3 separate regions of the Homo sapiens genome follow, and all the other regions are linked to region 1. Evidence: promoter capture Hi-C in human tissues and cell types (Jung and others, 2019). All regions are on one chromosome and are shown on one strand. The core of a region is centred on a gene start or on the middle of the fragment in contact, and the rest is flanking DNA. Distances in the headings are between cores, read along the strand shown. Region 1 holds the start of PLCB2 (phospholipase C beta 2). Region 2 overlaps GPR176 (G protein-coupled receptor 176). Region 3 overlaps SRP14-DT (SRP14 divergent transcript).

Region 1 (2,681 bases), core at 77-2,576:
GGCCCCAACCCATAGTCATGGGCAGCGAGATCCCCTAGCCTAGCCCAGCCCCGAAGGGCCTAGACCCAGACCCCCTCATCCCACCTCCCATCAGGTGGACAAGTCAGCACTAAGGGCTGTCTTCCCTCCCCCACCAAGCCTTCATTTCCCTTCCTGGGACAAGCCCAGCACTCTAACTCTCAGACTGGGCGAGCCCAGCAGCCTCCCCTCCCTGAAGGAGAATCTCCATATTGTTCTCTCCAGCCTAAGAGAATCCCTGGCCTAAGGTAACATTTTCAGGGGCCAGGAGAACCAGAGCCTGGGAGCAGCCCCGTGTAGGAAGGAACAGACACAGCAGAGAGAGGGCTGCAGGGTGCAGCAGTGTCTTCCCCTTCCCTTGCTGACAGGCCTGCATCGGGGAGCAATGCTGAGCCCAGCAAGGGGTAGCAGAAGTCAAATCAGCTCCTTCCCTGGGAGCAGAAGCCTCTAGTTCTCACTTAGGTCCAGGGGCCTTTTGTGGCTGCCCCCACAGCAGCGCAGGGGAGAGCAAGGCTTCCCTGGACAGGATGATGCCCAGTGGAGGGGGTGAAGGAGCTGGGTCTGAGCGCCCTGCCGGAGCAAGGGCAAGACATCTGTGCTGGGAGCGGGGACGAGCTCACCTCTCCTCCTAGCCTGCCTCAGCTCTGGGGTGCACTTTCCTCCTCTTCTCTTGGGGGTTTGAAGGAGAAGAGAAGCAGACCCAAATAAACTACCTCCAGTGACCACCCAGGCAGCTCACCCACTTCTCACACCTAGAACCAAGGCTTAGCCCTTTAGCTGGGGACATACACCCTTAATCCCAGGTTTGTTTATCCAAGCAGTGGTGTCAGCTGCCTGGCCAAACCACACAGGCGCCTGGATCCTAGGAGACATAAACCAATCCTCCCACCCAAGCAAAGCCCCGTAGCAGCCCGGCCCCCACCACCTGGTGCTCCAGCAGCTGAGGCCCCTGCCCCACTTACATCATCCCATTTGATGAAGCGCTCCCCTTGGCTCAGATAGGCCTTCACCTTGGGGGGCAGCAGGACAGGGTTGAGCAGAGACATGGTGCCAAGCGTTCCTCTTTGCAGAATCTCAGCAGACACAGGCAGGCAGAAGGGCAGGAAGGAGGCCAGCCAGGAGGGGGAGCCAAGCTGGGCTCAAATGGCACCCATCCCCGAGCTGCTCCAGAAATCTAGTTGCTCTTATAGCCCCTGGGGTGGCCCTGGCTGAGTGCAGGACTGAGCTGTAGCCAGAGGCCCATCTGCCTTGTAAATCACCCTCCTCCCACCCGCCCTGCCTGCCATGGGGGCCTGTGGTCACTGCTTCTGCCCAAGGAGGCTGAAGCAGGAAGCCCCCGCCTCTTCTGGAGGCCCCCGCCCCCACCCCCAGCCCCACCCTGTGCCTCTCAGCACTTCCTGCTCTGGGCTTCCTTCTCTGCGCTGCTCACAGCGGAGACGTGGTCATGAGGCCGGGTCGCCTTGGAGCCAGGGCCTCTCAGTCCCTGTGGTGGTCTCTGGTCAGATTTGGCCCAGGAGGGCTGGAGAAGGACGACATGGAGACCAGCTGGGGAGACTGCTGCCCAGGCCTGGACTGAGGGAAGGCACAGGGAGCTCACTAGGAGAAAGGACCTCCTCAGGGGAAGGGTCCAGAGCATGGGCATCTGACCCCAAAGGTTGGGAGCACCGTAGAGGCAGGGGTGGGGTGGGGACAGGGCCCAGCTGGAATGGAGTGTTTTGAATAAGCAAAGTTTGCTGAACACACGGCTCCTCTTTCTCAATGCTTCCTCCCCCATGAAAATGAGGTGCACCTGCCGGGCGGGCGGGTGCGGTGGCTCACGCCTGTAATCCTAGCACTTTGGGAGGCCGAGGCGGGCGGATCACGAGGTCAGGAGATCGAGACCATCCTGGCTAACACGGTGAAACCCTGTCTCTACTAAAAATGCAAAAAATTAGCTGGGCGTGGCAGCGGCGCCTGTAGTCCCAGCTACTCGGGAGGCTGAGGCAGGAGAATGGCATGAACCCAGGAGGCGGAGCTTGCAATGAGCCGAGATGGCGCCACTGCACTCCAGCCTGGGCGACAGAGCAAGACTCCATCTCGAAAAAAATAAAAAAAGAAAGAAAATGAGGGGCACATGAGGCAAGGCAATCACTCCCCTCACCCACCTCACCAGACTCCCACCTCTGGGCCTCTGGGACTGCCTGAGGCCTGGACCCCCACTGAGCAGCCCTAGCCCCTGCCTCCACTGCGCTCTCCTCTCTCCTCCGTGTGCCCGCCTCTGCTGTGTACCCCAGCCTGCAGCGGGGCTGGGGCGGAGGGATGGCTGCTCTGGTTGGCCAGGCTCAGCCCCAGCTGCTCAGGTGCCTGACCCACACTCTGCCCCAGGCCCAGGGAGTTCAGCACCAGTCCAGCTCAGCCCAGCCCACTTCCTCTTGCCTAATCTGCTCCTCTTATCGCCCTTCTTAGCCCAGCCTGGGAGGCAGGGAGCTCTACCCAAGACTTCCTTCCCCTCTGGGGCCTGGCCTTTTGCCCTGGGTCACCCCCCCATGGGGCTTTGCATACCCCCAACAACGGTAAGACCCTCACCCAGGCCCTAGAATTGTCGCGGCTGGAGGTCTGGTCCAGGGCAGGGTGGAGGGTGAGGGAGGACACTCTTCATGCGGAATTAAGATAATAAACTGCCC
Region 2 (2,681 bases), core at 115-2,614, 420 kb before region 1:
TCAGGCTGGAGTGTAGCGACATGATCATAGCTCTCTGTATCCTTAAACTCCTGGGCTCAAGCAATCCTCTCACCTCAGTCCCCCAAGCAGCTAGGACTACAGGCACAGGCCATCACACTTGGCTAAGACTCTTGCTCTGTTGCCCAAGCTGTAGTGCCATGCTGTGATCATAACTCACCATAACCTCAAACTCCTGGCCTCAACTGATCCTCCTGCCTTGGACTTCCAAAGTGCTGGGATTACATGTTTGAGCCACCTTGCCCAGCTTATTCTTCTCCTCTTAATCTACCTTTTGTTACAAGGGTCCCAGCCCAGAATTCAGAAAGGTAAAGAGAACATTTTTTTTCTTCCCCTACAATGTGTAAATCATCTTTCTCTCCAGAGTTCTACCATCAGAGTAGCCTCATCAATCCCTTTCCTACCCATCTTGAGGATATGAACCTTCCCGATTCTTAGACACAATTTCCATTTCCAGAAGCTTATCCACTCCATAAGCTTCTAGCTGTGATAACTTTTAATGAGACAGGTAATTGTTTGCGATAAACAGTCACCTCCTCTGGGTTAGTTAGGGGACTGGAACTCCCAGCAAGACTCTTATCATCCCTGCTCTCCAATTTTCCCCCTTGAGGCACCAGCTATTTAAAAAGGAATCCAGGAAGGACAAAGGCTGATCACCAGAGATTACGTTAGAACCTTATCAGCCTGGAGAGGGCATCAGAGAATCTACACAACAAACTTTCTAACTAAGCTTTATCTACCATGAGTTTCCCATGTAAGATAAGCCAGTGCTCCTGACATTGCAAGGTTTAGATCTCTGTGACTCCAAGATGGAGACAATTCAGAGAGCAATTCTACCTCCTCCTCCATAATCCCTGCTTTACAACTAGGAAAACTAAAATAGGCCCATGCTATTTCCTTCATTTAATAAATTAAAGTATTGGCCGGCCACAGTGGTTTACGCCTGTAATCCCAACACTTTGGGAGGCTGAGGTGGGTGGATCACCTGAGGTTGGAAATTCGAGACCAGCCTGACTAACATGGAGAAACTTCATCTCTACTAAAAATATAAAAATAGCCAGGCATGGTGGCGCACACCTGTAATCCCAGCTACTTGGGGGAATGAGGCAGGAGAATCACTTGAACCCAGGAGGTGGAGGTTGCAGTGAGCTGAGATTGTGCCATTGCACTCCAGCCTGGGCAATAACAGCAAAATTCCATCTCAAAAATAAAATAAAATAAAATAAAATAAAATAAAATAAAATAAAATAAAATAAAATAAAATAAAACAAAACAAAACATTAAAGTGTTATGGGACCTTGACTCTAACTGTCCCAAATATGAGAACGCTAGGGTCCCAAGGAGGTGAAATTGCAAGTTTGTGAATACCTTCACTGGGACGCAAACTCCTTGGAGGTAAGGACTTTGTTTGGTTCCCTACTATATCCCTAGTACCTAGAGCAATGCTTGGCACATGGCAGGTGCTTAGTAAATATTTGTAGAATGAATGTATGCACAAAAGAAAACACAGAGAAAAGCTAGTCTCAGCATCTCCATAGCCTCTCTAAGCGCCAGATCTAAGGCACATCCCCTCAATTCTCCATCTACCCAAGGCCTATTGCAGAGGTGTTTTAGAGCCTATGTCCATATATCTGCCCAACTCCACTTCAGTGAGGTCACACTGGGAGTTTGAATGATGATATTTTCATCATGGCCAATTTCAAAATGATGAAAATTTTGATCATCATTTTCAATATGATGATATGAAAATATCACCACGCCTGGCTTTTTTTAGAGCCTACGAAAATCACAAACCACTACAAATTTGGGTTTTCTTAGAGAGAGCCTGATGTTAAACATTTACCAGCACACCACTGCCCTTAAGACTTACAATGTCTCTTTTCTGTGAACATAAAGGCAGGAAAAAATTAAGCTCAGCAAGTGCCAACTTATTTTGTAAAAATACCTATTCACACTAATTTTCTAATTCGGGTTTTTTGCAGGTCACTATAGAAGAGATTGCACTGAAAACTGAAGGGACTCCTTTGTGAGGACATTTCCCATTTGCCAAAAGTTACAGTTTATGAAACTTAACAGACCAAGGACAAAGATCTCAAAACAGAGGTGAATGGAAGGCTGAGGAGATACGCCTTAGGCGCAGACCACTGGGAAAGTATGGAGATTCTGAGAGTGGCCCTTTGAAATTGAGTAGTATAGAATCATATACTTTGATTTTGACTGTAAATTATACTTTTTATTTTATTTTTAAACAGGTTTGTGGCATTTATTATGTGCCAAGCTCTATTTGCTTAGCAAATATTCATTCATTCTAGCTACAAATACCACACACACACAAGTGTTCAATATCACCCAGACAAAGGAACCCTTACTGACTCCTATCCTTTTGCCCATGACAAAACAGAAACATAAATCTTCTCACCATCAGAGCCCAGTTAATGGCTCTGGGCCTGGTAATGGTAAGAAACCTGAGCTGGAGCTGAGGTCCACCAGACCATGGATGAGTTGGGCTTGGGCTTGACTAGGCTTCCATAAGGCCATATACTAAATTTGGCACCCTGGTATATATCCCTTCAAATTTATAATTGTAGAGTTTAATGGAGTAAGACAGAACCCAAGGGGGAGGTAGCAGTGTTGCCTTGGGCCTCTTTTTGAAGAGGTAGAGA
Region 3 (2,681 bases), core at 55-2,554, 260 kb before region 1:
AAACTCTAAATTGAGTGGGGATGTGAAGTGGTTGTGGCCTTACAGAAACAGCACTGGAGTGGCAGCCGAAGTGCTGAGTTCTAATCTGAATTCTGCCACTCATTGGCGTGGGACCTTGGACAAGTCACTTTTTGCCGGACTTGAGTTTCTTCCTCTGTAACTTGGGGAGTTGGGATTGAGCTGTAAAGTCCCTTCCAGTTTTAAATGTGAGACTCCAATGCTGTCAGGTAACTTTGGGATTGCTGTAATGACTGTTTGGGGGCTAGTATAGCTGGGAAAGAAATTAGGATGAGAATCCAATTGAGGGCAAGATAAAATGGAATTGTATTCTATTCAGAACTTGAAATAGGATGGGATTTTGTTTTCCCCAGATCCTCACCATAAAGAGATTTGGGAGAAAATCTTGGGAGATTTGGACTCAGAATATCTTAAGAGGTAGTATTCTAGAAGATTGCCCAACACTTGGTGGGGAAGAGCAAGAATTCTTCCAGATTGCTTGACAAGCAGAACATGGGGAGTGGGTCACAGTAATACCAGGAAAGACACATCCCATCCTCCCAACCCTCTTTTCCACTGAAGCTGCTCCTTACAATTCCTGTAACTGGGGACCAGGCCTTTCATTCCAGTTACAGCTAAAACTTAACATGGCCATTTAAATTTCCCTGAGGGTATAAATGGCTAATATTCTCTCCTTCTAAGACCCAGCATATGCTGAGAGAGGCCTTCAGAGGAGGTGGGGGCTGGAAGAAGGAGTGAAGGTGGAGGCCCAAAGATCACGCAGGAGCCATGCTTTTTCTGAAGCCAGATCTAGGCCTAGCAACTCAGAGCAGTTCCCCGTGGGCAGTGATGTGGAAGAAGGCCCTGGGCTTCCTAAGTGCCTCTAGGTCACTTTGTGAAACCTCTCACATGGGCCTGCCTGGGAGGAGGAGCCCAGTGTAGCCCCCACCTGTCTGCTGCCTGCTCATCTTCCAGGGTGTTGAGGGGATGGGTAGCATGGCTGTCTGCCCCCACCAATTACCCACATGGCTTGGGTCAACCAGACTCTGTCAGAGCTGTTGAAGGAGACATAAACCTAGGCTTTTGGAGGCAGCTTCAGGGAAAGGTGGAGTGTGTGAGGTGGAAGGTGGGTGAGAAAGTGTGCAAGGGGGAACACACTGTTCTCTACTGGCCCTTTGCCAAACAGCAAGGGAGAGAGGAGTAACAAGGCCAGACTATGGCCATGTTTAGTGGTTTTCAACTGCGGCCCAAAATGAGGCAGACATAGGCTAGGCATGGTCTAGCCCTTGTGTGTGTGTGTGTGTGTGTGTGTGTGTGTGTGTGTGTGTAGGGGGAGTGTGAGGAAGTTGTGAGGGTGTGTGGTGTGTGGGGGAGTGGTGTGTGTGGGGGGTGTGGTGTGTGTGAGGAGTGTGTGGTGTGTGGGGGATTGTGGTGTGCGGGGGCGGTGGTGTGTGTGGTGTGGGGTGTGGTGTGTGCGTCTGTGTGGTTGTGTGTGGTGTGTGGGGAGGTGTCATGTGGCATGTGTGGGGGGTTGTGTGTGTGTGAGGAGTGTGTAGTGTGGGGGGGGTTTGTGTGTGCATGGTGTGTGTGCGCGTGTGAGGGGGTGTGGTATGCATGGGCAGTGGTGTATGTGGTGTGTGGGGGGTGTGGTGTGTGGGGGTGTGTGGTGCGGTGTGGGTGTGTGTGTGTAAGGAGGTAGTGTGTGTGGATGTGTGTAGGGGGTGTGGGGTGATGGTGCGTGTGTGGTATGGGGGGTGTGGTGTGTGTGTCTGGAGTGGGGAGTGTGTGGTGTGTGGGGAGGGTGGGGATGTGTGTGTGGAGTGTGGGGGTGTGTGGTGTGTGTGTGGAGTGTGGTGTGTGGGGAGGGGGCGGGTGTTGGCCTGGGTGAGCCCTGGCAATCGCAGCAGAGAAGATGCCAAAATTTTGTATTTACTGTCAGGGCAATGATGCTGGAACTGCAGATCCAGCGCCCCGAAACCCGGCCCATCCCAAGACACTGCTTCTCACAGCCAACAGAGGAAGGAGGGAGGGGGAGAGGCCTGAAGCCGAGGCTTCTTCTTGAGGAATGCTCGCCAGGCCAGCAGCCTTCCTCACTTCAATGCAGCCTTCCCCTTCTATCCACCGATGAGCATTTAGCGGGCAACTCCTTTGTCCAGGGCAAGCCTTCCCCAGGTCTCTCTCTTCAAAAGCAGATGCTACCTAGTGGGAGGTGCGGAGTTATACATGCAAGAAAGGGCTACAGGACAGCATCACTAGTACCAAGCTGTGAAGGAGGTGGACTTTGAAGGGAAGAAAGAATTTAGAAAAACAGACTAGTGGACTAGTTACTGCGGGGAGCAGAGTGCCATTTCAGGCAGGAGAAGGAGTGTGATGTGAATCTTAGGGAAGAGTCCTCTTTGTATGTTCTGACAACTATTCTCTGACACCAACGGGGCATCCTGCAATTGGATTCAGTGTCAATTCTGACACTGACTACCTGCAGTTAGTGCCTGTGATATTGTGAAACAGGTATTAATTAGGTCTTCATTCCTGACATACAACTCCTAAAATCCTTGGAATCTCCTAAGTTTTAAGTGTCTTTTTGCACGCTAAGCACCTAGGTAGCTTCAAGATGGGAGCTGGCCGCCAGAAAGATCAAGACAGGGTTAGAGGATTGGGACTTTCAGCCCCACCCTTCAACCTCC

Evidence for each region. Contacts are between HindIII fragments. The study calls those that stand out against the background at their distance.
Region 2: a fragment that was not itself captured here is called in contact with the fragment with the promoter of PLCB2 in region 1 in 1 of the 25 tissues and cell types used here (lymphoblastoid cells).
Region 3: a contact is called between a fragment that was not itself captured here and the fragment with the promoter of PLCB2 in region 1, in 2 of the 25 tissues and cell types used here (lymphoblastoid cells and mesenchymal stem cells).

What each region holds. Positions count from the first base shown.
Region 1 is chr15:40,306,609-40,309,289 of GRCh38, forward strand. PLCB2 (phospholipase C beta 2) reads right to left here and starts at 1,327. Exons shown (of 32, transcript NM_004573.3): 1 at 981-1,327. The coding sequence starts at 1,064. The HindIII fragment of the contact is 11,638 bases long and covers 1-2,681 here.
Region 2 is chr15:39,888,327-39,891,007 of GRCh38, forward strand. The region is part of intron 1 of GPR176 (G protein-coupled receptor 176); the gene reads right to left. Among named protein-coding and RNA genes, the nearest start is that of GPR176, 31 kb to the right of the region's middle. The HindIII fragment of the contact is 5,143 bases long and covers 1-2,681 here.
Region 3 is chr15:40,049,166-40,051,846 of GRCh38, forward strand. The region is part of intron 2 of SRP14-DT (SRP14 divergent transcript); the gene reads left to right. Among named protein-coding and RNA genes, the nearest start is that of SRP14-DT, 11 kb to the left of the region's middle. The HindIII fragment of the contact is 7,633 bases long and covers 1-2,681 here.